Regions from separate parts of the Homo sapiens genome. Here regions 2, 3, 4, 5, 6 and 7 are each linked to region 1. Evidence: promoter capture Hi-C in 16 types of primary human blood cells and fetal thymus (Javierre and others, 2016). All regions are on one chromosome and are shown on one strand. The core of a region is centred on a gene start or on the middle of the fragment in contact, and the rest is flanking DNA. Distances in the headings are between cores, read along the strand shown.

What was found. The method cuts DNA at HindIII sites, captures the fragments that hold promoters and counts their contacts. A CHiCAGO score of 5 or more calls a contact.
Region 2: a fragment that was not itself captured here is called in contact with the fragment with the promoter of XPO5 in region 1 in 1 of 17 cell types (M2 macrophages); the score reaches 6.5 in M2 macrophages.
Region 3: the fragment with the promoter of TBCC here is called in contact with the fragment with the promoter of XPO5 in region 1 in 2 of 17 cell types (naive B cells and fetal thymus); the score reaches 6.6 in naive B cells.
Region 4: a fragment that was not itself captured here is called in contact with the fragment with the promoter of XPO5 in region 1 in 1 of 17 cell types (erythroblasts); the score reaches 5.2 in erythroblasts.
Region 5: a contact is called between the fragment with the promoter of RRP36 here and the fragment with the promoter of XPO5 in region 1, in 3 of 17 cell types (erythroblasts, megakaryocytes and M2 macrophages). The highest score is 5.6, in erythroblasts.
Region 6: a fragment that was not itself captured here is called in contact with the fragment with the promoter of XPO5 in region 1 in 1 of 17 cell types (M1 macrophages); the score reaches 5.1 in M1 macrophages.
Region 7: a contact is called between a fragment that was not itself captured here and the fragment with the promoter of XPO5 in region 1, in 1 of 17 cell types (erythroblasts). The highest score is 5.1, in erythroblasts.

What each region holds. Positions count from the first base shown.
Region 1 is chr6:43,574,170-43,577,725 of GRCh38, forward strand. It overlaps XPO5 (exportin 5), which reads right to left and starts at 1,869. Exons shown (of 32, transcript NM_020750.3): 1 at 1,591-1,869. The coding sequence starts at 1,695. POLH (DNA polymerase eta) reads left to right here and starts at 2,016. Exons shown (of 11, transcript NM_006502.3): 1 at 2,016-2,271. RefSeq lists a silencer at 1,816-2,015 and an enhancer at 2,036-2,285. The HindIII fragment of the contact is 3,950 bases long and covers 856-3,556 here.
Region 2 is chr6:42,634,304-42,637,859 of GRCh38, forward strand. UBR2 (ubiquitin protein ligase E3 component n-recognin 2) reads left to right here. Exons shown (of 47, transcript NM_001363705.2): 14 at 1,115-1,243; 15 at 2,708-2,891. Among named protein-coding and RNA genes, the nearest start is that of UBR2, 72 kb to the left of the region's middle. The HindIII fragment of the contact is 1,957 bases long and covers 768-2,724 here.
Region 3 is chr6:42,744,331-42,747,886 of GRCh38, forward strand. TBCC (tubulin folding cofactor C) reads right to left here and starts at 1,773. Exons shown (of 1, transcript NM_003192.3): 1 at 168-1,773. The coding sequence starts at 1,743. The coding sequence ends at 703. It also overlaps a transcript of BICRAL not described here. RefSeq lists enhancers at 1,262-1,421, 1,482-1,561, 1,592-1,801, 1,866-2,829, 3,216-3,265 and a silencer at 2,772-2,831. The HindIII fragment of the contact is 2,174 bases long and covers 1,754-3,556 here.
Region 4 is chr6:44,130,999-44,134,554 of GRCh38, forward strand. The region is part of intron 1 of TMEM63B (transmembrane protein 63B); the gene reads left to right. Among named protein-coding and RNA genes, the nearest start is that of TMEM63B, 5.2 kb to the left of the region's middle. RefSeq lists a silencer at 163-322 and enhancers at 2,167-3,132, 2,555-2,724, 3,133-3,556. The HindIII fragment of the contact is 938 bases long and covers 1,838-2,775 here.
Region 5 is chr6:43,019,787-43,023,342 of GRCh38, forward strand. It overlaps RRP36 (ribosomal RNA processing 36), which reads left to right and starts at 1,837. Exons shown (of 7, transcript NM_033112.4): 1 at 1,837-1,998. The coding sequence starts at 1,869. KLHDC3 (kelch domain containing 3) reads left to right here. Exons shown (of 11, transcript NM_057161.4): 11 at 881-1,508. The coding sequence ends at 947. RefSeq lists enhancers at 1,389-2,120, 1,519-1,628, 1,689-1,738, 2,121-2,852 and silencers at 1,829-1,898, 1,909-1,958, 1,969-2,038. The HindIII fragment of the contact is 2,407 bases long and covers 1,648-3,556 here.
Region 6 is chr6:44,114,876-44,118,431 of GRCh38, forward strand. MRPL14 (mitochondrial ribosomal protein L14) reads right to left here. Exons shown (of 3, transcript NM_032111.4): 2 at 1,666-1,754. The coding sequence starts at 1,736. Among named protein-coding and RNA genes, the nearest start is that of MRPL14, 11 kb to the right of the region's middle. RefSeq lists an enhancer at 2,331-2,500. The HindIII fragment of the contact is 188 bases long and covers 1,432-1,619 here.
Region 7 is chr6:44,095,161-44,098,716 of GRCh38, forward strand. No RefSeq gene overlaps it. Among named protein-coding and RNA genes, the nearest start is that of SCIRT, 22 kb to the left of the region's middle. RefSeq lists silencers at 1,592-1,886, 1,664-1,833. The HindIII fragment of the contact is 6,139 bases long and covers 1-3,556 here.

The DNA.
Region 1 (3,556 bases), core at 619-3,118:
GGTGCCTGTAATCCCAGCTACTCAGGAGGCTGAAGTGGTAGGAGAATCACTTGAGCTCGAGAAATCAAGGCTGAAGTGAGCCGAGATCTCACCACTGCACGCCAGCCTGGACAACCAGAGTGAGACCCTACTCAAAAAGAAACTCCAACCTAAGCTATATGTTTAAAGTTGCAAAACCTAGATCAATATTATGTGGATCTCCAAGCACAGTTGCTTTAAAAATATATATTTAATATAAAAATAAAAATATAAAATATATAAAAGTTACACATATATAACATTTCCTCCAAGTGGTGTTCACTCTATTTTATGTGTATATATTATATATATATTATGAATAAAGAACTGATAAACATTCCTTCCAGCGTGATGGTTCCAGATTTTTTCCATGCTACGGCCAACAGTAGCCCTACTAGTGTTGGAAAAAAATGGACACAAAGGAATAAGAAATTATTTGTTAGAGACATCCCCCTGACGTACATAGGGGTGAAATAACAATTTCTAGGGTTTCTTTTAAAAACCTTCGAGGCAGGGAGAGAGGATAGGCGGTGGAAAAAGTAAATGCGGTAAAATCTTTGATTGCTGAATTTAGGTGACAGGAACATGCAGAATCACTGTCGTATTCTCTCCACTTTTGTGTCTATTTTAAATATTAATAATAAAAACCAAACTAATGGAACCCAATTGTTTCTGATTCCAAACCCTGTGGCAGACATCTACATATTGTAACATTTCCTCCAAGTGGTGGTCACTCTCTTTTTTGAAGTTAACATCACTTTAAAAATGTACAGCACAAGTATTTTCTCCTAAATGGCCATTTCTCACAGCCCACACACGTTGTTTTATGGGCAAGTAAGCTTGAATTGTATTAACACCCCCAAACTGCAACATAAGTCAGTCCCAAGAGCAGAGCATTCGGGTCTCACGCAAACTACTTTCAGGAAACCAAAGTGCCCTTGTTAAAATGCAAAGTAAGTGGTAGAAGTTATCTTTGCGCAAAATAGCCTAAAAATATTACACTCAAAAACATGGGAGAAGTAGGGGTGCGAGAATTTCCCCGGAAAATGTCCAAGACACAAACGAAAGTTAGCGAGATGTTAAAGCATATAAGCATAAGGGTACCAGAGGGGCTGGAGCTCGGTCAGGGCCAGGGGAGTGGGCCAGCAGGAAAACGTTTAGTGCAGGAGAGACCATAAAGAACGAAGCTGGTGTTGGGGGCGGGATCTACACGTGCGCCTCGGGAAGGCGAGGGGATGTCGGGCTTGGGGAATGAAAATGGGCGAGGGTCATGTTGCGGACAAGAGTGCACAGAAGCGAGGAAAGGGGGAGGAGAGGGCTGTGGGAAGCTGCGGCGAGATGAGAAGCAGCATAGGGACCGGAGTGTCCCAGGCAAAGGACAGGAGCGGCGAGTAGAGAAGGCGGCGATTTGGGAGAGGCGCGGAGGGCCGCGAGGGGAAGGTCCCGGGGAGTTGGGAAAGGAGGTCCAGGGGCCGCGTGGGCGGGAGACTACCCCAGTTACAGGCGGCGCCGGAGCTGCTGGGGCTGGGAGAGGGTGTCGGGACCGGCCCAGGACGCCAGGACCCCAGCTACCTTGAGGGCTTCCAGCCGGTAGCGCTGGGTGGAGTTGGGGTCCATCATGACCGTCACCGCTTTCACCAGCTGCTCGCACAGCGCGTTTACTTGATCCATCGCCATGCCTAGCGCCACGCGCCGAGAGCGCACACCACTGCAGTCCCGGGACCACGAGGCACGACAGCTCCCTCGGCGAGACCACCCGTTGGTACCGGGCCGCGGCGGGCGGCGGGGGTGGGAAGCTGGAGGAGGAGCGTTAGCAGCAACTCGCGCTGGGAAGAAGCCGGCGCTGCGCACGCGCCCGGCCCGCCACTGCGCACGCGCCCGCGGAAGTGGCGGCTCCCGTGTGCAGGTTGAGCCTAGGTGGGCGGGGCGGGAGGCGGAAGGGCCGCGGTGCGCAGCCGCGTCAACGGCCCTTCGCAGCGGGCGCGCTGTCAGACCTCAGTCTGGCGGCTGCATTGCTGGGCGCGCCGCTCTCGTCTGATCCCTGCTGGGGACGGTTGCCCGGGCAGGATCCTTTACGATCCCTTCTCGGTTTCTCCGTCGTCACAGGGAATAAATCTCGCTCGAAACTCACTGGACCGCTCCTAGAAAGGCGAAAAGATATTCAGGAGCCCTTCCATTTTCCTTCCAGTAGGCACCGAACCCAGCATTTTCGGCAACCGCTGCTGGCAGTTTTGCCAGGTGTTTGTTACCTTGGTAAGAAAATTTAGAACCGTTCGCTGTCACTGTGTTCAGACTTTCTATGTTGCCTTGGCTATTGGTTTTATAATGTAGCAGTGACTGGGCCAAGGTTGCGTGAAATATAAATCATGCTAACAGGGATAAGGCCCTGGTACTGTCTTCTAAGATTTTTCTTGTAGAAAAAAGTATGTTTTTCCCTGTAGTTGTTAAACCTCTCTCTTGGAATTACTTTCCTGGATGTATTATTACCTGGTGGGCACTAAACTTGTTTTGTGCGGATTGGGGTAACTCGAGATGTTTAAAGGGAATAATTGCAATCAGTGAAGGTTTGTGCAGTTTTGATAATTGGCCAAGTGCTATGTATAAGGTTTCAAAGTAGTGTAATCCTTATCCAAAAGCATGGCTTGGGCAGAAAGTCTTCTTCATTTTCCATCTTTATAAAGCTCTTGGCCGGGCGCGGTGGCTCACGCCTGTAATCCCAGCACTTTGGGAGGCGGAGGCGGGCGGATCACCTGAGGTCAGGAGTTCGAGACCAGCCTCACCAACATGGTGAAACCCCGTTTCTACTAAACATACAAAAATTATGTTTGCATTTTTAGTATTTTTATACAGGCGTGGCGGTGCGCGCCTGTAATCCCAGCTACTCGGGAGGCTGAGGTGGGAGAATCGCTTGAACCCGGGAGGCGGAGGTTCAGTGAGCCGAGATCGCGCCTTTGCACTCCAGCCTGGGCGACAGAGCGAAACTCCGTCTCAAAAATAAATAAATAAAGCTCTTGCTTTCTCCAGTAAATACATAAACGGAAAACCTCAACAGCTTTATTATCTGTTAAAGTCTGCATGTCTGTTTTTGTGATTGTGTGCTTAGTAAATTGTGTGCTGAACATAAATCACTGCTTCCTATTCTTGCTCCACTTCTGGTATTTGGATCTAATATGGTGCTTAGCCTGTGTTTTTTTGTGTTACAATACTATTTGTTGGCTCAGTCTGTTCCAGTACTACTGAAAAGCCACTTCAAAGTAGAGGGACTTCTGGCATGTTATAGTTTTAACTTGTAAATGTTTAAAGTATCACATTCTGCCTGTTTTAGGCGTGGTCGATTGGAATTTATAAGGAATTAATGCTTTGACTGCTCTGATTTTAATTATTTTTCTTTCCACTCACCTTCCTGCTTTGCAGTTGTAAGACGTTTTTTTTTTCAAGGTGAATGTTAGTTTTTGAAAAACTTTTTTTAGAATACAGTTGGGTGCTCACTCAACTGTATAACCTGTGTTTCTCGTATTTAAATCATGGATTGCTGGTG
Region 2 (3,556 bases), core at 496-2,995, 940 kb before region 1:
ACCAGTTATAACTGTAAGAAGATAGGTGACGTCTCTAAAAATCTGAGCAAGTACTATTATGATTTCTTTAGTAGCCACCTGGCTTTCTTAAGAAAAGGAATGACCAAAGTTGACTTACCATTTTTATTTTTATTTGTTTGAATTTATTTTTATTTATTTATTTATTTTGGAGGTGGAGGTTTGCTCTATCGCCCAGGCGGGAGTGCAGTGGCGCGATCTTGGCTCACTGCAACCTCTGCCTCCCAGGTTCAAGCAATTCTTCTGCCTCAGCCTCCCGAGTAGCTGGGATTACAGGTGCACGCCACCACACCTAGCTCATTTTTGTATTGTTAGTAGAGACAGGGTTTCGCCATGTTGGCCAGGCTGGTCTTGAATTCCTGACCTCAAGTGATCCACCCGCCTCGGCCTCCCAAAGTGCTGGGATTACAGGCGTGGGCCACCATGTCTGGCCTGACTTACCATTCTAGTTCCTAGGTTGGGTGGTAGTTCATGGGTGTTTATTATAATACTACTATGTTTTTCATGTATCTGTGAAAACAATAGCTACTTTGGTCATTTTTGATACTTGAAGTATTCTGTATTCTCTATTGTTTAATAAGTTCTGACATACTAGAATAGTTAGGCTAGTTTCTGAACAGTAATTTTAATTAAAAGCTATTTATTGTTTTGCCTTCTTTCAGGCTCTGTGAAAACTTCTAATTGCATATTAGGACATAATATTAAAACTTTATTATAAAATACAGTTATAAATTCAATAACATTTTAAAAGCTTGTCACATTTCTTTTAACAATTTTTTCTATAGACCATAGAGCTAAAAAGGAAGGATTATTGCAGTGAAATATTGAAGTATTTTATTGCCTAAAACAGATCTTAGATGATACCTCTGAAATAATGTGTTTATTGGGATTTCTAAATTTATATTTTAGAGAATGTTATATAAACACATAATTTTAAAAGCTATTATTTCTCATAGTACTTGAAGTTTCCTGTTAAAACTTATACCTTCTATGTTTTTATAATCAATATATATTTCTCCTACATTACTTCTTAGGTTTCCATATAAAAGAACAACTATTATTTTCATTCATATATAATTTTTTCACTTCCGTTAAGGGAATGGATCCAATTACACGTCAAGTAGGACAACATATTGAAATGGAACCAGAGTGGGAAGCAGCCTTCACACTACAAATGAAATTAACACATGTCATTTCAATGATGCAGGACTGGTGTGCTTCAGATGTGAGTTTCTTCTGGGTGCGGGGAATAGGAGGAAAGTGGAAGAGGGAGGAATAAGCAGAATCCTAAGTAAATTTCAAGGAGATCTGGAGAAAATAGTGGTGATACTTAGTTCATTAAACAGCGTATTTTCCTTCTCCACCTATAAACTCAGTAAAATTTTAAAATTCTACAGCCTGAGGAAAAACTTGAAAAATAGAGAAAGAAATAATCCAGATTGTCTCTTCCCTAATGTAACTATCTTTGTTTTTTTTCCATAATCCCTTCTAGACTTTGAGGATATAAAAATGGTAGTTTCTAAATTTATTCAAAAATAAAGTTTTATTATTGGTACATTTGTCCTGTGTCTTAAAATTATTTTGGCCTTCCTTTGGCGATAAAGTCTAGATGAGAGCCTGTATACATTATGAGGTTAGGGAGGTTTCTGTAAGGTCTGAACAATCTGTAAAAGTTAATGGAACAATGAGTAAATGATATTCCTGACTGAGAAGACAGCTGCATTATAGTCTGTGATGACAGGGACTAGGGTAGTCCTAGGAGCTATAGAAAGGTCTGTGGTTGGAGCACAGAAGTAGAGAACAGAGATTTGGGCACAGGAGTGATTTTTCGGGGCCTTGGCCATGGTTGTTTTTTTTTTTGTTTTTTTTTTTTTTGAGACACAGCTTACTCTGTTGCCCAGGCCAGAGTGCAGTGGTGCAATCCCGGCTCACTGCAGCCTCAACCTCCCTGGGCTTAGGTGATCCTCCCACCTCAGCCTCCCAAGTAGCTGGGACAACAGGCACACACCACCACACCTGGCTAATTTTTCTATTTTTTGTAGAGACAGGGCTTCGCCGTGTTACCCAGGCTGGTCTTGAATTCCTGGGCTCAAGCGATCTGCTTGCCTCGGCCTCCCAAAGTCTTGGAATTACCAGCGTGAGCCACCACACTCAGCCTGCATTTTATTTGAATTGAAGTGGGAAGCCTTTAGAGATTACCATCTCTCTATTAAATTCCCTGCTTCAACTCTTGCCCCCTTTATCCATTTTCCATACAGTGACATGATTCAATTTACATGTTTTTTAAAATTGCTCTGTATGGAGAATGGATGAAGGGGGCAAGAGTCAAAGCAGGAATTTAATAGAGAGACGCTTGGCAATGCCTTGGAGTTACTAGAGATAGAGAAAAGTAGCAAGTTTTGAGAGAAACTTAGAAGATGAAGTTGCCAGCTTGGTAATAGATTGGACAATGGGGAATGGGGGAAAGGAGGGTATTGGAATAACTTCTAGATTTCTGCACTATATGAGTAAATGTATCATTCACTGAGATGAGGGACACTGGAAGAGGGACCAAATTTGGGAGGGAGGATTGAGTTTGGTTTTGCCTATATTGTTATTTGAGGTACTTACTCACTGAATTTAAGGTGCTTATTCAATGTTGTAAAAACTCAACCTTTTGAGTAACTTACAGAAAAACCCTCTTTTTTAGGAAAAAGTGTTAATCGAAGCTTACAAGAAATGTCTCGCTGTACTGATGCAGTGTCATGGTGGTTATACTGATGGTGAACAGCCAATCACACTAAGCATTTGTGGACATTCAGTGGAAACTATCAGATACTGTGTTTCCCAAGAAAAAGTTAGCATTCACCTCCCAGTTTCTCGCTTACTTGCAGGTAAAGCATTTCCCCTAAAATAAAACCCTAAAATTATCTTTTAAATTGTTGTTTGTGGTTAATATCTGTGAATACTTACTTTGTGCCAGATGTTATTCTGTGATTTCTACATCATTAACTTATCCAATCATCACATCGTCCTGTGAAGTAGGTATTATTATTAAGCTTGCTTCATAGATGGGAAGACAGAGGCATAGAGAGTGACTTGCTTAGTAAGTCACACAACAAGAAAGAATCAGTTGGCATTATGAGGAAGTTTGGCACCAGAGGCCATGTTTATAGCCGTTATACCATAGTGCTTCTTTAGACAACTACAGATACCACGTTTTATCATTTCATCGAATCCAGCTTCAAAGTCTATGTTGTTACCATTCAAATTAATCTGTCACTTAAGCAATTGCTAATCATTTGAAGCCACCCTAGGTTTTCTATTCTCCTTTTTTTCCTCTCCCTCTGAGCTGTTTCATATATTTATTGATAGCTTTTTACGCAACAGGTCAAGAACAAGGACATAATGGGGTGATAATCTTTTAATTTCAAGTAGTTGATTTACAAGCCACTTGTAATTAATTGGTAGAATGTCTGAAGCTGCCATCTTATGTGGCCAAAGACTTTGAATATGCACTTATCCATCTCTGCAGACTCATTTCAGTACAGCTTTCATA
Region 3 (3,556 bases), core at 523-3,022, 830 kb before region 1:
ACCCTGACACTGCTGGTTACTGTCTATAATCCGAGTGTTTTGGGAGGCTGAGGCAGGAGAATTGCTTGAGGTCAGGAGTTCGAAACCAGCCTGGGCAACATAAGGAGAGCCCATCTCTTTAAAAACAAAACACACACACACACACACACACCAAACAAACCCATGTATTTACTGCAGACCTACTTTATTATGCACCGTGATGTTTCAAGTATCACAAACCATTACAAAGCAATATAATCACCCTCCTTCCCCCTTACTGCTTCAAACTATTGTGGTAAAAATAAATAAATAAAGCCCTGGCGTGGTGGCTCACGCCTGTAATGCCAGCACTTTGGGAAGCTGAAGCGGGTGGATCACCTGAGGTCAGGAGTTCGAGAGCAGCCCGGACAACATGGCGAAACCCCGTCTCTACTAAAAATACAAGTTCGCGTGGTGGCGCGCGCCTGTAATCCCAGCGCGCCACCACGCTGGGGGACGGAGTAAGACTCAGTCTCAAAGGCATGACGAAAATAGCAAAAATGCTTTAGTGTTATACCTGTTACGAATTTAATGGAAATTACAAGTAGGAGCCCATTACAATCTCTAGCCTTAAAATGCTGAAAACATACACAGTGTGACAATAAGTAAACTTCGAGACCCAATAAGGGGGAAAGTCCAACGTGGAAAGTATTTGGTAGGAGTGAAGAACAGAGTGACAACTGCTTAGTCCCACTGGATATTTCGCTCCTCTTCAGGAAGAATACTCCAGTTTGGGGAGGCCATATCCCGGGCCAGCCAGTTAAAATCGTCAACATCGTTCCAGTTATTTTTGCTCCTATCTAAACCAGAGCTCTCGAAGTCCTTGTCGATCTCCGGGTAGCTCCAGGTGTAAGGGGCGAACTGGATCCCACTGCAGTCCTCCACGATGGCCCTGCTGGTCACCTGCAGGAAGATGCGGGTGTCTTTCGTACTGTGTATGCGGAGCTGTTGGCAGGCCACTGCCAGCACGCAGTCACTGCAGTCCTCCAGGAAAACAGAGGTAGACACCGGACCGCAGAGCAGCTTGCAGCTGTGGGCCTTGGTTAGCCGCAGGGTGTTGGGATTTCCATACAGTCTGACCGTGCAGTTGCTCAGTTCGGTCAAAAGAACGTCGCGCTGGTGCAACTCGCTGGCTCTCTTCTCCAAGACTTGGGACTCCAGGTTGGAGAAACCGCAGACCCAGCTGGGGCCGAGGTCTCCTTCCGCCTTCTTGGGCAGCGGGGAGTCCTGTATGCTTTCAACTGCCGGGGGGATGCCAGGAGCCGCGTCTACTTTGGTAGACGAAGCAGCATCCTTTCCCCGGGTCTTGAAAGCGAAACGCTTCTTGGGCTGCAGCCCCCGGCGCCGCTCGGCCAAGGCCGCCTGCAGCCGCGCCAGCGCCTCTTGTCCCTGCCGCAGGTCGTAAGCGGCTAGGAAAAAAACTGAGTCGTTGATTAGTTTCTGCAGCCCCTGGAGCCGAGAGGCCGCCTCCTCCAGCCGCTCGACCGACTCCGCGCGCTCCAGAAGCTCTTCCACGGCCGCTCGCTCCCGAACAAAGGTGGCGACGAAAAAGTGGCTGTTCTCCTTCTCTACCTCCTGGTTCTGCCGCTTTTGTTTCCGCCTTTCAACTTCCAGCTGCCGTTCTTGTTCGCGTCTCTGAAGCCGCTCAGGCACCAGGCTCAGGTCCCGCTGGGACTCCATGTCTCCGGTCCTGACAGCAGCAGCGGAGCAACTGACGGACTCCATATTGGCTTCAAGCTTCCTCTCTCTTGTCTTCCTTCCTCCGGGCGCGCTGTCCGTGAGGCCTCCCACCAACGCGTCCGGTGATTGGCCTAACATGATGATGTCAGATCCCCGGCCTTATTTTCTTCGCCTATTGGTTCCTCTGCGTCGGAGGGGGCGGGGAGATGGGGCGGGGCCGACTGACTATGGGGGTGGGAAGACAAAGGTTCTTGTGGATGGGTGGGGTGGGAGGCAGGCGGGGGAATCTTTTTTTTCCTCTTAAAGGGGCAGGACTTATATCCGGGATTGTGGGGTGAGTTGCAGCAGCGGCAGCTGCACATGTGGGTTTGTTTATAAGAACAAGGTTAGAAACTCGCAGGCCTCCCCCTCCCCCCAGCTCCTCCCTACTACCCCCTTACAGGCCGGAGATCCGCTACTAGGGGTGTGGGTGGGAGGGATGAGTGCGTGTGGTGGGTTGGGGGGACAGGTAGTGGTGAGAAAGATGGAGCGGGGGGGAATATTGCACCGCCTGGCCCGCGCCGGAGGAAGCAGCAGCTGGAACAGCTGGCTGGGGAGCCGCTTGCATGCCTCCGGTTTTTTCTTTTCCCTTCCACCACCCCTTCCCCCAACCCATTTCTGCCTCCCCGTAGCCCTCATCCTTACCGCCCCCCTCCCCCCTATCCACTGCAGTTCGGCGCGGCCTGGGGGCTCCTGGATCCCCGCAGGCAGTTACTAGGGCAGGAGAAGGCAAGGGGCACTGCGATGGGAGAGACTGGGTTCCTCACTGCAACCTGGTTCGAGGGGCCCTGGGGGAGTCCATAAAAGGATTACTATTTTTTTGGCCAATTGCTGCAGTCGGAGGGGTGGGGGCGGGGGAAGGTGAGATCCACACCCCCTTCCTCTTTCTTCCCTGCCCTCCCCGAGCTCGGTCCCGGCCACTCCCTCCGCAGCTGGGCGTCGCCGGCCGCGCTGGGGTGAGACCCTAGCCCCGGGCTCCGTGGCTCTCTGGGGCGGTCGGTCTTAGGAAAGCGGTGGGAGAAGCGGTACATTATTTCTAGGGGTGGTGGGAGGGATTTGTCACCGGAAGTGAATGGCCTAGCCTAAAGTCGGGACCAACCCGAGGTGTGGGTGGGCAGCCAAGACGGCGCAGTCACTGGCAAAAACCCGAGGCAGCGGGCAGGGCGAGAACCCGAGACGCAGCCGCTGCCCGGGCGCGGCAGCCTCGCATGCTTCGCTCAGATCTGCGGAGCTCCCGAACCTCTTTAACCCTGCCCGCCCTTCCAACCCTAGGTTTCCTCCTTATATCCCCAGTTCCCAGCCTCCATCGTTTAAATTGGGGTATTTAACGACCCAAGAAACTTGAAATTTCACCGATCTACCTGCATTTTGATGCAGAGAAAGATGGGAGGAAACGCGAACCATTGAATTAAATCTGAGTTAAAACTGATCTCCCATTTTCACGCCCCACTCTCTTCCTTTCCTTCCCACTTAAAACAAACAAAACACACATAAATTGCTGGGCCAGAGTATTTCTCCGCTGAGAGCACAGTTCATACCGTGTGGCAGATTCCCCGCGCAGGCGGGGCGCGGGGGCAGGGGAGAGGCTTGTGTGTCCGCGTGCCTGCGTGCACCCGATGGAAAAGGGGGTGCCGAAAAACAATGGTGCTTACTCTTGTGCATAGTCATCGTTTTCACTAGTCTTGTTTTATGGGCAGATTAGGTGAGGCTTCTGTTTTTGCTTTTTTGTTTTATTTTGTTTTTTTTTTTTTTTTTTGAGACGGAGTTATGCTGTTGTTGCCCAGGCTGGAGTGCAATGGCGCGATCTCGGCTCACCGCT
Region 4 (3,556 bases), core at 1,057-3,556, 560 kb after region 1:
CCTCTGCCTCCTGGGTTCAAGTGATTCTCCTGCCTCAGCCTCCCGAGTAGCTGGGACTACAGACGCATGCCACCACACCCAGCTAATTTTTGTATTTTTTTAGTAGAGACGGGGTTTCACTGTGTTGGCCAGGCTGGTCTCGAACTCCTGACCCTGTGATCTGCCCAGCTCGGCCTCCCAAAATGCTGGGATTACAGGTGTGAGCCACCGTGCCTGGCACCTACTACTACTTTTATGCTCACTTGTGGATATATTCTTGCCTTTCTCTCTGAAGTGGGTAGGGGTAGAGTAAGGATATTTGTATCTCTTTGTTACAGATTGGAAGACTGAGACTCAGGTTTCGTAGTAACAGAGCTCGCTTCCATCTTCCCCTCCTCCCCTCAGACCACATGGCCTTGCTTTGATCCAAAGCCCTAACTTAAATCTTGCCCAGTAACTCCACTGAAAAAGCTTATATCACTCCTGTAATCCCAGCACTTTGGGAGGCCGAGGTGGGCAGATCATGAGGTCAAGAGATCGAGACCATCCTGGCCAACATGGTGAAACCCTGTCTCTACTGAAAATACAAAAATTAGCTGGGCGTGGTGGCATGTGTCTGTAGTCCCAGCTACTCAGGAGGCTGAGGCAGGAGAATCCCTTGAACCCAGGAGGCAGAGGTTGCAGTGAGCCAAGATCGCGCCACTGCACTCCACTCTGGTGACAGAGCGAGACTCCGTCTCAAAAAAATACACAACAACCCCCCCAAAAAAAAGCTTATAAGTTATAGCTCTCCAACCCCCACCATGCACACACTCCTTAATGGTAAAATTAAAAAGTTAGCTAGAAGTAAAATGCTCCATCACTCTCTGGACACACCTCAACCAAAACCTCAATATCAGACTAGAGAAACTGGGATATAGCTGGTGCAGGCACCTCGTGGAGTGGAAGAACTGCCACCTCCCATCCCCAAGGTATTCTGCCTCAATGTCTTCCCTCTTCTCAGTTGCTCAGCCCAGTGCTGGCTTTGAGAGCAGCTGCCCTTGATGAAACTCAACCCAGCAACCCCACCCCCACAATTAAAAGCTTGGAGCAGCCCTGTCAACTGGCAGAGCTGCCAGCCCAGGCTCCACCCCTTACCTGTCCTGTCACTGTGCAAGTTGCTTCCCCTACTGGGTTCCTGCTTCCTCCCTGTAAAATGGGGATAGTGATCTGAGTGTGCCCTGCCTTCCTCCCATGCAGGTGGGAAGATTAATGCTGTTGTGGAGGGGAGAGTACTTTGTGACCCCAAGGAGGCGGACAGCAGAGGAGCATGGTGATTTCAGTTACTAACCATCTAGCTAGATCCTGTCCACCCTGCTGGGGCCACTTCATGTAGAAGCTTCCAAAATGCTCTACCTTTCTTTGGTGTGGAGAAGACAGGAGTTGATAGGAATGGTACTCTGGGGCTTGTTCTCATTTCATTCTGATCTGATGGAGCCTTGGAATTCAGAGAGAGAAACAGGCAAGGGGTGGGAATAGAGTGTTGAGATTGCTGGAGTACATTGGAGTTGAGAATTGAGAAAGGGGGACTAGTTAGAGTCCCCCCAACCCAAGATACCTATACCTACCTTTAACCTCCCATAGTGCCCCAGGGTTCTGTGCATCTTATGTTTACATACCCGGGCTCCCAGACACACCCATGTTCACACCCCCACTTCGAAGCCAACAACTCCCTTCATTTCCGTGGACTGCCATGCAGTCACCTAGCTCCTCCTGGACACAGGTCCACACATCAACACACATTTACATACCTGGACACACACATTTCCACAGCACCCACAGGTTCTCTGGCCTGAGAACATTTAATGAGCATTTATAAAGCTTCCATGGTCTGCCGAGTCCTGTTCTAGGAACATCAGAAAAGCACCGTGGTGCCCTGAAAATCATTCTAGCTTTAGAAAGAAGGTGAGCTAGGTTTGAGTCCTAGGTCCCTCATTTTATTAGCAGTGTGACCTTGGGAAAGTTACTTAACCTCTGAGGCCCTGTGCCCCCACCCTAAAATGTCAGTGACACTCAATTCAGGATCGTCGAGGATTAAATGAAATCATGTAATATATTATTCTTGAAACTGAGGGCACTGGACAAATGGTACCCAATACAATTACTAAATTAGTGTGTTTTTAAAGGCAGCTTGGACTGGAAAAGGAAGAGGCATAACACACCAGCACACACTCCTTTAGTCTTCCTAATCCAGGCTTTGCAGAGACTCCCTGGGACCAAGTGAAACACATAAACAACTCCATCCTCCCCTCCATCTGAGGGCTTCTGCCTCTTGCCCTGTGGTTGAAGTGTTAGGAAGAGGCAGGAGAAACCCTCTGAGTCCCCCTGGGGGCTAAGGGATGCTGCTCCCGAAGTTGCAGTCACTGTTTCTAGTTTTGTTGTTCTCTTTGGTTTTCCTTTTTCTTCCCTGAGGACCTCCTCCCCTGCTCCACAGCCCGCCCCCGAGGCAGAGCTTCAGTGTTGTCAGCAGAAGGGTCCCCCAGGGACCCCCCAGTAAAATGGGTGGGGCAGTGCTGCATCTGTTGAGGCCACACTTCTCCGCTATCCTGGGATCCTCCCCAGGGCCCCACTCTGCTCTGTCCCCAAGCACTTTGAGAACCCAGGCACTCAGGCTGGCTGTCCCTTTTCTCCTCCTGCCCACCCCATCCACTCTGAGCATCAATGCAGCCGGCCAGTTGCAGGCAACCAGGCAGCACCCTGGCTGCCCAGGCAGGCTAAGAGGCCCCCACCCACTCCCCCCTCCTTTGCCAGTGGAAAAGCTTGCCGTAGGGCATAGCTTTCCCAGCCTTCCCTGCTTCAGAGGCAGGAGCATGGCACTCTGGGAGTTGTAGTGCTCATAACACTCAGGCGATCCCTGTGCAAATAACTGGAGAGAGGACTATGGTATGGGGAAGAGAAATGAGAATAAGCAGGAGTGGCTGGGGCCAGGCAGGTAACTCAAACCCAGAAGTCCTACTATTTACTTGACTTCCTACTCTGACCCATCGTCGAACCTAAGCCAGTTATATTGAGTTCAAAACTCTAACCAAATGAAATCATGCCATTTTTTCTAATAGGCATAGAAAGAAAAGATCAGGATGAGGCAGCTGGCTCCTGACCCATTCTCCCCTGACGTGGAGACCCCTCATCTTACCCTTGAGTCCTCAGGCCTAAGACCCCTCCCTGTCTTCCCAGGCTCAGCTCCGCCCCCTGCCCTAAGACAGAGAGAATGAGAGTGTGGGGGTGGCGGCGGCAGGGGGGATTTAGATAGATGTTAGAAAATCACAGATACCTTCCAGCTTAATGAAACCAGCCTCCCCAGTCCAGGCCTGGCATCTAGACTGAGTTCCCCAGACCCAGGGTGGGGTCATAGCCAGAGAGCCAGTGAAGGTAAATCCATGTGACTCAACTCTCCCCTCCCTAGGCCCTTATCTCCAGAGGCCAGAGCTTCCATCCACCCAGGCAGCCTGGTGATCTGTCCTCACTGCCCCCTCCCCACGCCCACCCTACTGGGCCATGAAGGGGATGGGGGCAAGCCCAGCTGACTGCTCCACCCTCT
Region 5 (3,556 bases), core at 587-3,086, 550 kb before region 1:
TTTTCAGGTTCAAATTAACCACCAGATGTTACTTTGTATATAATTTTTCCTGTCTGGGTCATTCTGAGATACTTCGTCTCTTTGTATCAGTTCAGTTTAACTCTTGCTGGCTGGGCATGGTGGCTCATACCTGTAATCCCATCACTTCGGGAGGTTGAGGTGGGCAAATCAGTTGAGGTCAGGAGTTCGAGACCATCCTGGCCACATGGTGAAGCCCTGTCTATACTAAAAATACAAAAATTAGCTGGGCATAGTGGCAGCCACCAGTAGTCCCAGCTACTTGGGAGGTTGAGGCAAGAGAATTGCTTGAACCCGGGAGGCGGGGGTTTCAGTGAGTCAAGATTGTGCCACTGCACCACTGTACTCCAGCCTAGGTGACAGAACAAGACTCAAAAAAAAAATTAATATGGTTGGGTGGGTGGGGAAGGCCTCAGGAAGGATAGGAGTGCTGAGTCAGAGCCTTAAAAGGATGGGAGTTAAGAGCAAAAATGGGTATTCCTGGTGGGGTGAGGCATTCCTGGTGAGGGTAAGGTGGAGGGGCTGCCTGGTTGGCTCTAAGCAAAGCAGGAAAGGCAGGTTGGGATGTTGACTGACATGTATACACAGATCTCAGGTGCCTGGACACTGCAATATACATACATACATAAACATAAACCGGAAATCCATATGAGCTTGGAGGTAGAGGAGTGGGTGGTGTTGGATTTGGTGGTGGGTGGGTTCTGATTGTTCAACCTAGTAGGTCTCTTAAGTAAGAGGTGGCTGTGGGTGGTTGACCTTTAGGAAGTTGGAGAGACTGGTGTGTTTTTAGCTTGGTTCAAACATCCCTTAGCTTGGGCTGAGGGCCCCCTCTTCTTTCTGTCTCTTATTGTTGGCCTTCCAGGTGGGAGCTGAATGCCATGACCACCAACAGCAATATCAGTCGCCCCATCGTCTCCTCCCATGGGTAGGAGGAAGTTTCTGCCACCTCCCCTCCTGAGCCTGCTGTCATCTTCACTGCCCCTGCCCATCTGTCACCCACCTGCTCCTTTGACCCCTGGACTTGGTATACCTCCATGTGGAGTTGTTGGGCGAGAGGTGTTCTCTGTGCTGTGAATTCAGTGGGGAGCTGTAGCGGGGTGGGGGCTAGGTTCCTCCCCCCTTGGGCCGAGGGCCCCTTCCCCTTGGTGCTCTGTCCCCATCCACCTCCTTTCAGCTGCTCCTGGGCCTCAGCTCTGCCCAGGGCCAGCCAGGTTCTGCTGGGAAGGGAAGGGAATGGGGAGAAGGGAGAAGCAAGCAGTGTCTGAGCCTCAGGAGCTTCCCCCTCCCCCTTTGCCTATCCCCTCCCCTCTGCTTGAGCCTTGAGCCTTGACTGGGAGCTGAAAGGAGTTGCAGCTGTTGGCATGAGACCTCCTTCTCCCCGTCTTGGGGAGGTGGGGACCAGCAGATAAATCCCACCCTTCCTTGAGCTGTCGCTGTACTCTGAAGTTCAGCCAGCTCAGATTTTATAAAAATTAATTAAAATCTCCAAACGTGTTGTGTGTTTTTGTGGAATATGGTGGAGAAGGCTGGAGTTTGCAGTGGGGGCAGGGTGCCGAGGACAAGCACCCTGAGGTTCTGGCTTCTCAGCCAAGGGTATTAGGAAACCAAATGCCACCAAGGCCTGGTCCAAGCTTCTCGGGCGTGGAACCCAGCACCCTGCGACTCGGGCAGAAGGTTGCGACAATGTCTCCAGAGCGGGTTATCCTTTGGGCCCGGCTCCCTGGCCCTCGACCGCGCAGTTTTCTGCCCATTCGTCACCACGTTGAGACCGGGAACGCCGGAAGAGGCGGGGCAGGGGCTGCCGTGAGCGGAAGCGGCGCCATTCGTCTTCCGAGCGCTACTGCCAGCTGATGCCGGGAGCTAACTACCGCGCCGGGGCCGGGGCCGGGGCCGGGGCCCGACGTCCCCGCGGGGCCCGGGACCGCGAGGAGGACGGCGGGGGCCTGGAGCCCGCGGCCGTGGCCCGCGACCTATTGAGGGGTGAGGGCATGGGGCAGGGCGGGCTGGGGAGGGGAAGGAGATTCCCAGGCGGGGCCCTGAGCCTGCAGAGACGGTGCCGGTAAGACTGCCAAGTTCTCTAAGAGGCAGACGCTACACTAGGGGTGCCCCCAGTGCAGTGGAAAGTGGGGGGTGAGAGTAGATGCTTCCGGGATTAGGACATCCTGAGAAGTTTCTTCACGGCAGGATGAGGGTTTTCGGCGATGGGGAACGTATGTGCAATAGCATGGAGGCAGGAAAAGGCATGCATGGCTGCTGAAGGCTTAGTAGATCAGAATTCAGCAGATTCCGTAGACTTTGTTTTTTTAATTTTTTTTTTTTGAGACGGAGTCTCTCTCTGTCGCCAAGGCTGGAGTGCAGTGGCGCGATGTCGGCAAGCTCCGCCTCCCGGGTTCACGCCATTCTGCTGCCTCAGCCTCCAGAGCAGCTGGGACTACAGGCGCCCGCCACCACGCCCGGCTAATTTTTTGTATTTTTAGTAGAGACGGGGTCTCACCTTGTTAGCCAGGATGGTCTCGATCTCCTGACCTCGTGATCCGCCCGCCTCAGCCTCCCAAAGTGCTGGGATTCCAGGCGTGAGCCACTGCGCCCAGCCTGTTTTTTAAATTTTTTATATTTTTTATTTTTTTGAGACAAAGTCTCGCCCTGTAGCCCAGGCTGGAGTGTAGTTGCACCATGACGGCTCACTGCGGCCTCGAACTCCCGGGCCCAAGAGATCCTCCTACCTCAGCCTTTCGAGTAGCTGGGACTGCAGGCGCGTCACCACGCCTGCACGGATGGGTTTGTTTATTTATTTATTTATTTATTTAATGTAGAAACAAGGTCTCACCTTTTTTTTTTTTTTTTTTTTGACGGCGTCTCGCTCTGTTGCCCATGCTGGAGTGCAGTAGCGCGATCTCAGCTCACTGCAAGCTCCGCCTCCCGTGTTTACGCCATTCTCCTGCCTCAGCCTCCCGAGTAGTGGGACTACAGGCGCCCGCCACCACGCCCGGCTAATTTTTTGTATTTTTAGTAGAGATGGGGTTTCACCGTGTTAGCCAGGATGGTCTCTATCTCCTGACCTCGTGATCCGCCCGCCTCGGCCTCCCAAAGTGCTGGGATTACAGGCGTGAGCCACCTCGCCCAGCCAGGTCTCATCATGTTACCAGGTGCCAGGGCTGGTCTCCAGTTCCTGGGCTCAAGTGATCCACCCGCCTCAGCCTCCCAAGGATTACAGGATTACTGTGCCCAGCAAATGCTGCAGGCTTTTTGTTAAGGCACAGTTCTAGCTGCTGGAGATAGTTGTGAATAAAGTAGTCAAACACTCCTATCCTGGCCGGGTGTGGTGGATCACACCTGTAATCCCAGCACCAGGGGAGACTGAAGCAGGAGGATCGCTTGAGCCCAGGAGTTCAAGACCAGCCTGGTAAACATAATGAGACCCGCTTTTCTACTAAAAATAAAAAAATTTAGCCAGGGTGGTGGCCCACGTCTGTATTCCCAGCCACTGAGGAGGCTGAGGCATGAGGATAGTTTGAGCCCAGGAGGTCGAGGCTGCAGT
Region 6 (3,556 bases), core at 276-2,775, 540 kb after region 1:
TGAGATTACAGGCGTGAGCCACCGCGCCCGGTCCCCTAATTTTCTTATTTACATGTTGCTGGGAACTAGAAGATATGGGTAAGTTTACTAAGGGAATTCTCTGACACAACATACCAGAAACTGGTAATAAGTCAAGGTAACAATCTTCTGTTTTAATACATTTTTTCTCATTAGAAAAAAAAATTTTAGAGAGTACTTATTGAAGGCAGACAAGGTATTATTAAGCAAGCTGATTACAGTGGGATTCCTATTTTCCTGATGCTAGCACCTGATGCTGGTGTTTCCGCAGGGTAATCCTAGGACCTCTTCTCTCGTTTTTTATGCCTACTCTGGGCAATCTTACCCATTAGCATTGCTGCCAACTAGTAAATTCCATCTCCAGCCCCGCCTCTCTTCTATATTCTAGTTCTATATATTTCCACTCTCCTCAACTCCCTACAACATGCTCTATAGATACTGCAAACTCAGTAGGTCCCAAACTCATCTCACTGCCTCCCCTTGCAAACCTCCGCCTGCTGCTACACTTATCTAGACGATGGCTTCTCCAGCAGTACCAGAAGCCAAGCCATAAACCTCTCTCCACCAACATGAACTGGCCACCAAGTCCTGTTAATATCACCCCCTAAGCACCTATGTCCTTTCTCTCCAATCCCGCCAACAACTTCCTTCATTTAGCAGCTCACTCTCCTACACCAAGACTGTGACATTAGTGTCCTAGTTGGTTCCCATTGCACTTCACTTTGCCAACAAAGAGCTCTCTTTAGAATATAAAAGTGATGCTACTCCCCACCATCTACACTGTCAACAACCTTGTCCCAATTTACCTACCTTCTAAGGCTACACATCCTACCACTCTGGGCAGGAGAACCAGGAACCACTTCCCCAAGCACACCCTGCCTCCCAATTCTCCCTGGAGGCCTAGACAGGATCTGCCCCCATCTCCCTTTTGAGAAGACTGCCTCCACTCTTTCTCCTCCTCTTCCTCCACTAGCAGCTCCTATATGACGCCTTCCAAAGCACTGTACAATCCTCTATTATAATATTCTATCACATTTTCTTAGAGTTACTTATTTTCAAGTTTGCTCCTGTGGCTGACAGTGAGAATTCTTTCAGGACAGAAAGCAACTCTCTTTCATCTCTGTATGGCCAACCCCAGGTGCGGTGCTCAGGAAATGCCTGTGGGATGAGGGCATGACGGGGCCAGGAGGCATGTCTGCCAACAAGCGTGCCTCCTGTGCTCTCCTGGCTTAGCATCTACAAGGAGGGGAGGGTGTCACACTTCTATCATGCTCAAGTTCTTGGTAATAAGCATGTATTATTTTTGTAATTAAAAAAATTCCGTTTTTAAAAGGATTTTAATGCTCTAGGGGAATGATAGGGTTGAGAGATGTCAGATTCACTGTAAGAGTCTTGCAAGGACTGAAGAGTAAAAGCTTCCGCCATATGCCATTCCCCATCACACTTCTAACAGCAACATCACCTCTTTACCTATCCCCCATCCTGTGACCAGACCAACCAGGCCAGCTCAGCCTGATCACTTTAGCTTTCCCCAACCCCATGCCCACCTCCCTGAGTTTTTACTCCTGTTCTAGTCACCGTAATACCCAGCCCTGATAGGAAGCTTACACAAAGACACAGTTTTAAGAACTTAATGGGAAAAGTTACCTGAAACAGTGATGGCTCAGCACTCTGCTTACACAGGTGAAGGGGCCCCAGAGCCCAGTAAAGAAAGCCATGGGATCCCAAGATAGATCCTGCAGGAAAAACGAGAGGGGGAAAAATTGGTTTCTAAGTCAGAGCCCTTAAAGCCAGTTTTCTTTGGGGACTTGTGTGGGAGATGGCACTTCCAGCACAAGATCATTAGTCACAAAATATAAATCTTAGTGGTTAAAGGATACACAGATGATTAGACAGAGCTGTAGCTCCGATTTTGCTGATTCACATTCTAACTCTGGGGTTGGAGAGGGAGAATGGCCCACAACAGCTTCTGCTATAAAAAAATACAACAGCACGGAGAATGCCTTCCTTATTATATCACTTCCACAGGCAGGAGGAAAATATGAGCCCTTGGTTATAAACCCAGCCAGGGACTTCTTCTCGAGTCCTCCATAGAGGAAAAACTGCACACTATTGCCCTTTTTGATATTCATATGCCTTCTGAAACCAGCACTTTAACTCCCTAAAAGAAAGTAAATTATCTAAGCAGCCACCCAAGTTGTCTATCACTACATCACCTTTCCCCCAAATGTAAAGGCCAGAACACCTGTACAGCTCAAGGCCAGCAAAGCAAAGCCAAAGGCTGCTCTTGCCAAGTCAAAGACCAAAGTCTTTATTTGGGTCAGTCTCCCAAACACTGTAACATGGAAAACTGACCTACACCATACTACAGCTGAAAGTGGGCTTTGGGAAACCAACTTGAAGAGTTAGCTAAAAGAGCAAACACCAACCCAAGACTTGTGACTCCAGTTTTCAGAATCTCAACCCTGTTGCTCCCTAGCACTAACAAATATGGAGGCTGCCAGTGCCCTGAAACACCTGAACATCACTTCAGAGCATGCTTCAGAAAGGCCTGTAGCCAGCTGCAAAACACACCTGTTTTTCCACCCAAACGTTTGGCAGCAGAGGTGCCCATTCAAGAGGTCTGCCGAGAAAAGCCTCTACACTGTAGTATTTACACACAGCTTTGCTATGCACAAGTTCAAACCACCTCAGATAAGATTTTATTTAATAAGAATGTTAGGGTGGGGCAGGGGAATCCACTCCTCCCCAGGAATACCTAGACACTCCATACTTTTTTTTCTTTCCTTGAGACAAGTCTTGCTCTGTCACCCATGCTGGAATGTAGTGGTGCAACTGCAGCTCACTGCAGTCCCGAACTCCCCAAGCTCAGGTGATCCTCCCACCTCAGCCTCCCAAGTAGTCAGGACCACAGACATGCACCAGGACGCCTGGCTAATTTTTTGTGTTTTTTTTTTTTTTTTTTTTTTTTTTGTAGAGATGATGGTCTCACTATGTTGCCCAGGCTGGCCTTGAACTCCTGAGTTCATGCAATCCTCCCGCCTCAGCCCCGCAAAGTGCTGGGATTATGGGTGTGAGCCACCCACCACACCTGGCCTTTAAATGCTTATTAACTACAATTTAGCCTCAAATCCCAAACTTACTCCCAAATGTTTTCCTTAAGACAACCCATGAAGCATCAGCCAAAATGTAATTATGATCAGAAAAATCAAATGCAAAAGAAGGCAGCTAATGTATGCAACTACTAACATCTGACACACAGAGAATCACAGACTACCAAATGAGACTAGCTTTACTTTTACTGGTGAGATGACCCTGGACAAGTAACCAAACTGTTGAGCTTTGGTTTACCATCTGTAACACAGGGATACTAATAGTATCTGCCCCCAAGGTAGTTATGAGGATTCAATTAGATAAGCCATGCAAAGCACTTAGCACAGTGCCTGGCACTCATTACCTATTAGCTATCATCATCATGATGTCATATATCATTTTAAAGATTAGAAAATTGATATACAGGCAGATTAAGTGACTTGTG
Region 7 (3,556 bases), core at 449-2,948, 520 kb after region 1:
AGAACTGGCGGGAGATGGGCGTGGAAGGCAGGGTGGGCCAGACCAGAAGGGACCCTGAATGCCTACCAAGGATGTCTACATTGAATTTCTGGGCAACGAGGAGCCAAGGCAGGTTCTTCAACAGGCTGAGCTGTACTGTGCTTTAGAAAGATGACTGTGATGCAGGGGCCTGGAGAGGCTGGTGTGTGGGGAGGGGCAGCTAAAATAAATGGCCAGAGGCTGTAGAGAGAGGTGGGGCAGGACAGGGCCCGTCAAGCCCCAGAGGTAACCAAGACTGAGAAGGAGTTTCACTCTTGTTGCCCAGGCTGGAGTGCAATGGTGCGATCTTGGCTCACTGCAACCTCTGCCTCCCGAGTTCAAGCGATTTTCCTGCCTCAGCCTCCTGAGTAGCTGAAACTACAGGCGTGTGCCACCACACCCAGCTAATTTTTGTATTTTTAGTAGAGACAGGTTTTCACCATGTTGGCCAGCTGGTCTCGAACTCCTGATCTCAGGTGACCCACCCTCCTTAGCCTCCCAAAGTGCTAGGATTACAGGAATGAGCTACCACACCCGGCCAAGAAAGTATTTTTACAGACCCCAAGAATGGGGTGTCCAGCTGGGCGTGGTGGCTCATGCCTGTAAAATCCCAGTACTTTGGGAGGCCAAGGTTGGCGGATCACCTGAGGTCAGGAGTTCGAGACCAGCCTGGCCAGCATGGTGAAACCCTGTCTCTACTAAAAATACAAAAAATTAGCTGGGCGTGGTGGGAGGAGCCCGTAATCCCAGCTACTTGGGAGGCTGAGGCAGGAGAATCGCTTGAACCCGAGATGGCGCCATTGCACTCCAATCTGGGTGACGAGAGCGAAACTCCGTCTCAAAAAACAAAAAAAGAATGCAGTGTCCCCAGCCCCAGGCCCCGCCCTGCTTCACCCCACCTCCCTCCACAGTTTGGCCTGGGTCCATGGCTGGAGTCCCTTCCTAGCCTATAGCCCCAGGCCCTGCTGCAGTGACCCCCATCAGCCCAGGGCATTCTGTTCATGCCCCATGACTCTCATGAAGGATGAGAGCAGGGTGCTGGCTTTACAGGAGTTGGGTGAACCTCAGATACTGAGAGTGGACAACACTTACACAGCCCTGACCCGGAAAGGGGACCTGTTTTAAGTGCCTTATTTTGACTCACTTCAACCCTACAAGGTACGTACTATTACATTCCAAGGAGGGGAAACTGATGCACAGGGGACTTGCCCAAGGGATGTGAACCCTGGCAGTCTGGTGCCAGGGTCTGTCCTCCGTACTCCACCTCAAGGTAGTCATTGCTCTCTCTAGACTCTGAGTGTCTCTACCTGCTCTCCTCTCTCCTCTTTGCTTTCACAATGATCCTGCCAGATGCTCTCTTTCCTGCCAGAAGGGAGGGCTACATGTGAAAATCTGGCATCAGAGTCTCAGCCACTCCCTTCTCAGGAACCACCTGCCTGCCTGCCATAGCAGGCGGTGAAGAGCCAGCCCTGACATCAGACAGCTCCTGGAGGCAGGCAGGCCTGTCTGAACCCTCCTCCCTGCTGCAACAGAAATGGCTACCAGCCCCACTGGCCAGGCCTACAGCAGGCTGTGCCTGGCCCCCACTTGACAGGCAGCACTCACCTCTCACCTCTGCTCTGGGGGCCCAGCTGAGGCAGCACCTGCCCAGGATGTCATGGTGCCATAGTTGCACCAGCTCCAGGACCAGGGCAGCTGAACGCCCCTTTGCCCACTAGATGGCACAATGTGCACAGAAATGTGGGTTGACCGCTTGGCCACCCTTTCCACCTGCAGAGGAACTGGATTTCACCACACTCTGCATTTATCTCATTTTTATTCTCATTCCTCATCCTAACCCATAGCCAACCATTTGTATGTGTCCTTGCAAAACAAGTGCATGTATTTTTTAGTTTCACAATTAGTAATATATATATATATATATATATATATATATATAAAAAACACACACACACATTATAGATATATTTCTTAATTGTTTTCGCTCAGCACTGTATTTTTAAACCTCATTCATGTTGCTGTGAGCACATTTAGTTTCTGGTGGGCACCTTCCACATTTATTTACCCACTCTGAGGGCGACAGGCACCCAAGTTCCCTCCAACACCCCAGCAACCCTGCCATGACCGTCCTTGACAGGAACCGTTACGGCTCGGCCTGAAAACCTAAGAAGCGGAATTGCCAGGTTACAGGGCATGCAGCGACTTCATTTGGCACAGTACTGCCAGCCAGCTCTCAACCCACCCAGTTCTTGGAGGGTTCCTGGGGAAAAGACGCCCAGCCTCCTAGGACTAGTCAGCCTAGCACCCCTTCCTGTGGGGAGGGGCCCCAATCCTTTCTGCTTGGGCCCAAGGGAGATGGAGAGCCAGTGGCCTCTGTCAAGAGCGTCTTGCAAAGGTAAGACCTTAAGGTCCTACATCTCCCCTGGGCATTTTTTTTTTTAAGTAAAGGGCAATGGCTGGCCTGTTAAATCCCCCACATCCCTCTCTTCAGGAGCCTTTCTGATTACAAAGCCCATTCTTTTTCTCCCTTCTCCTCCCACAGAACTATCCCAGTTTCCTGCATTTTCCCATTTCTCTTCCTCTGCCCATCCCTTCCATGTGAACACCCTACACTTACTAGCTATGTGTCTGTGGACAAGTTACTTGGACTCTCCCTCTTTGTCTATAATATGGAAATAAGTAATATCATTACTAATAATAGGCACACAGGCATAATCCCTCCCTGGCCTCTGCACACAGCCCTCTCTCTAACTCAATGCTGCCCCACTTCCCACATATATTTAAGTAGCTCAAGCCCCTCCTCCCCCAGGAAGTCATCCCTGATTGAACCAGATACAGTCCCAATGTCCTTAATCCAACTGTCACCTACTAAGAGCTCAAGTGATTATTTTTGGCTGAAATTTGAAATAACAATAATGGCTATGATTGATACGCTGAGCACCTACTATGTGCCAAGAATTCTACGGCCTACTCCATATCCACACAAGAGCCCTGGAAGGCAGACATTGTCATCCTGACTTCTCAAATGAGGAGGCTGAGACTCAGAGAGTAAGGTGACTTGCCTGAAGTCACTGGCAGGTAATTGTCAAGGTCAGGACTGGAATACAGGCTTGTCTGATATAAAAGCTCTACCCCACACCACCTCCTTCAGAATCCCTTCCTCTTGCCCTCATTCCCCCATACACATGGTATGTGCATTGCATTTTAAAATTATTTGTGATTTTAAGTACACAAATAATAGAGGGATATAGTCTCTTTATTAAAAAATTAAAGCACTACAGAGCTGTGTCACCTTTGACCAGGAACCTTCTACCTCCCTCCTCCCCAAAGGAACTCCCACTATTAGCACTGTCTTGGGTATCATTCTTGTGCTTTTTTGCCTTTTTTTTTTTTTTTTTTTGAGACAGGGTATCTTGCTCTGGTGCCCAGGCTGGAGTGCAGGGAATGTAGTGGTGTGATATCACAGCTCACCACAACCTCTGCCTCCCAGGTTCAGGTGATCTTCATGCTCAGCCTCCCAAGTGGCTGGGATTACAGG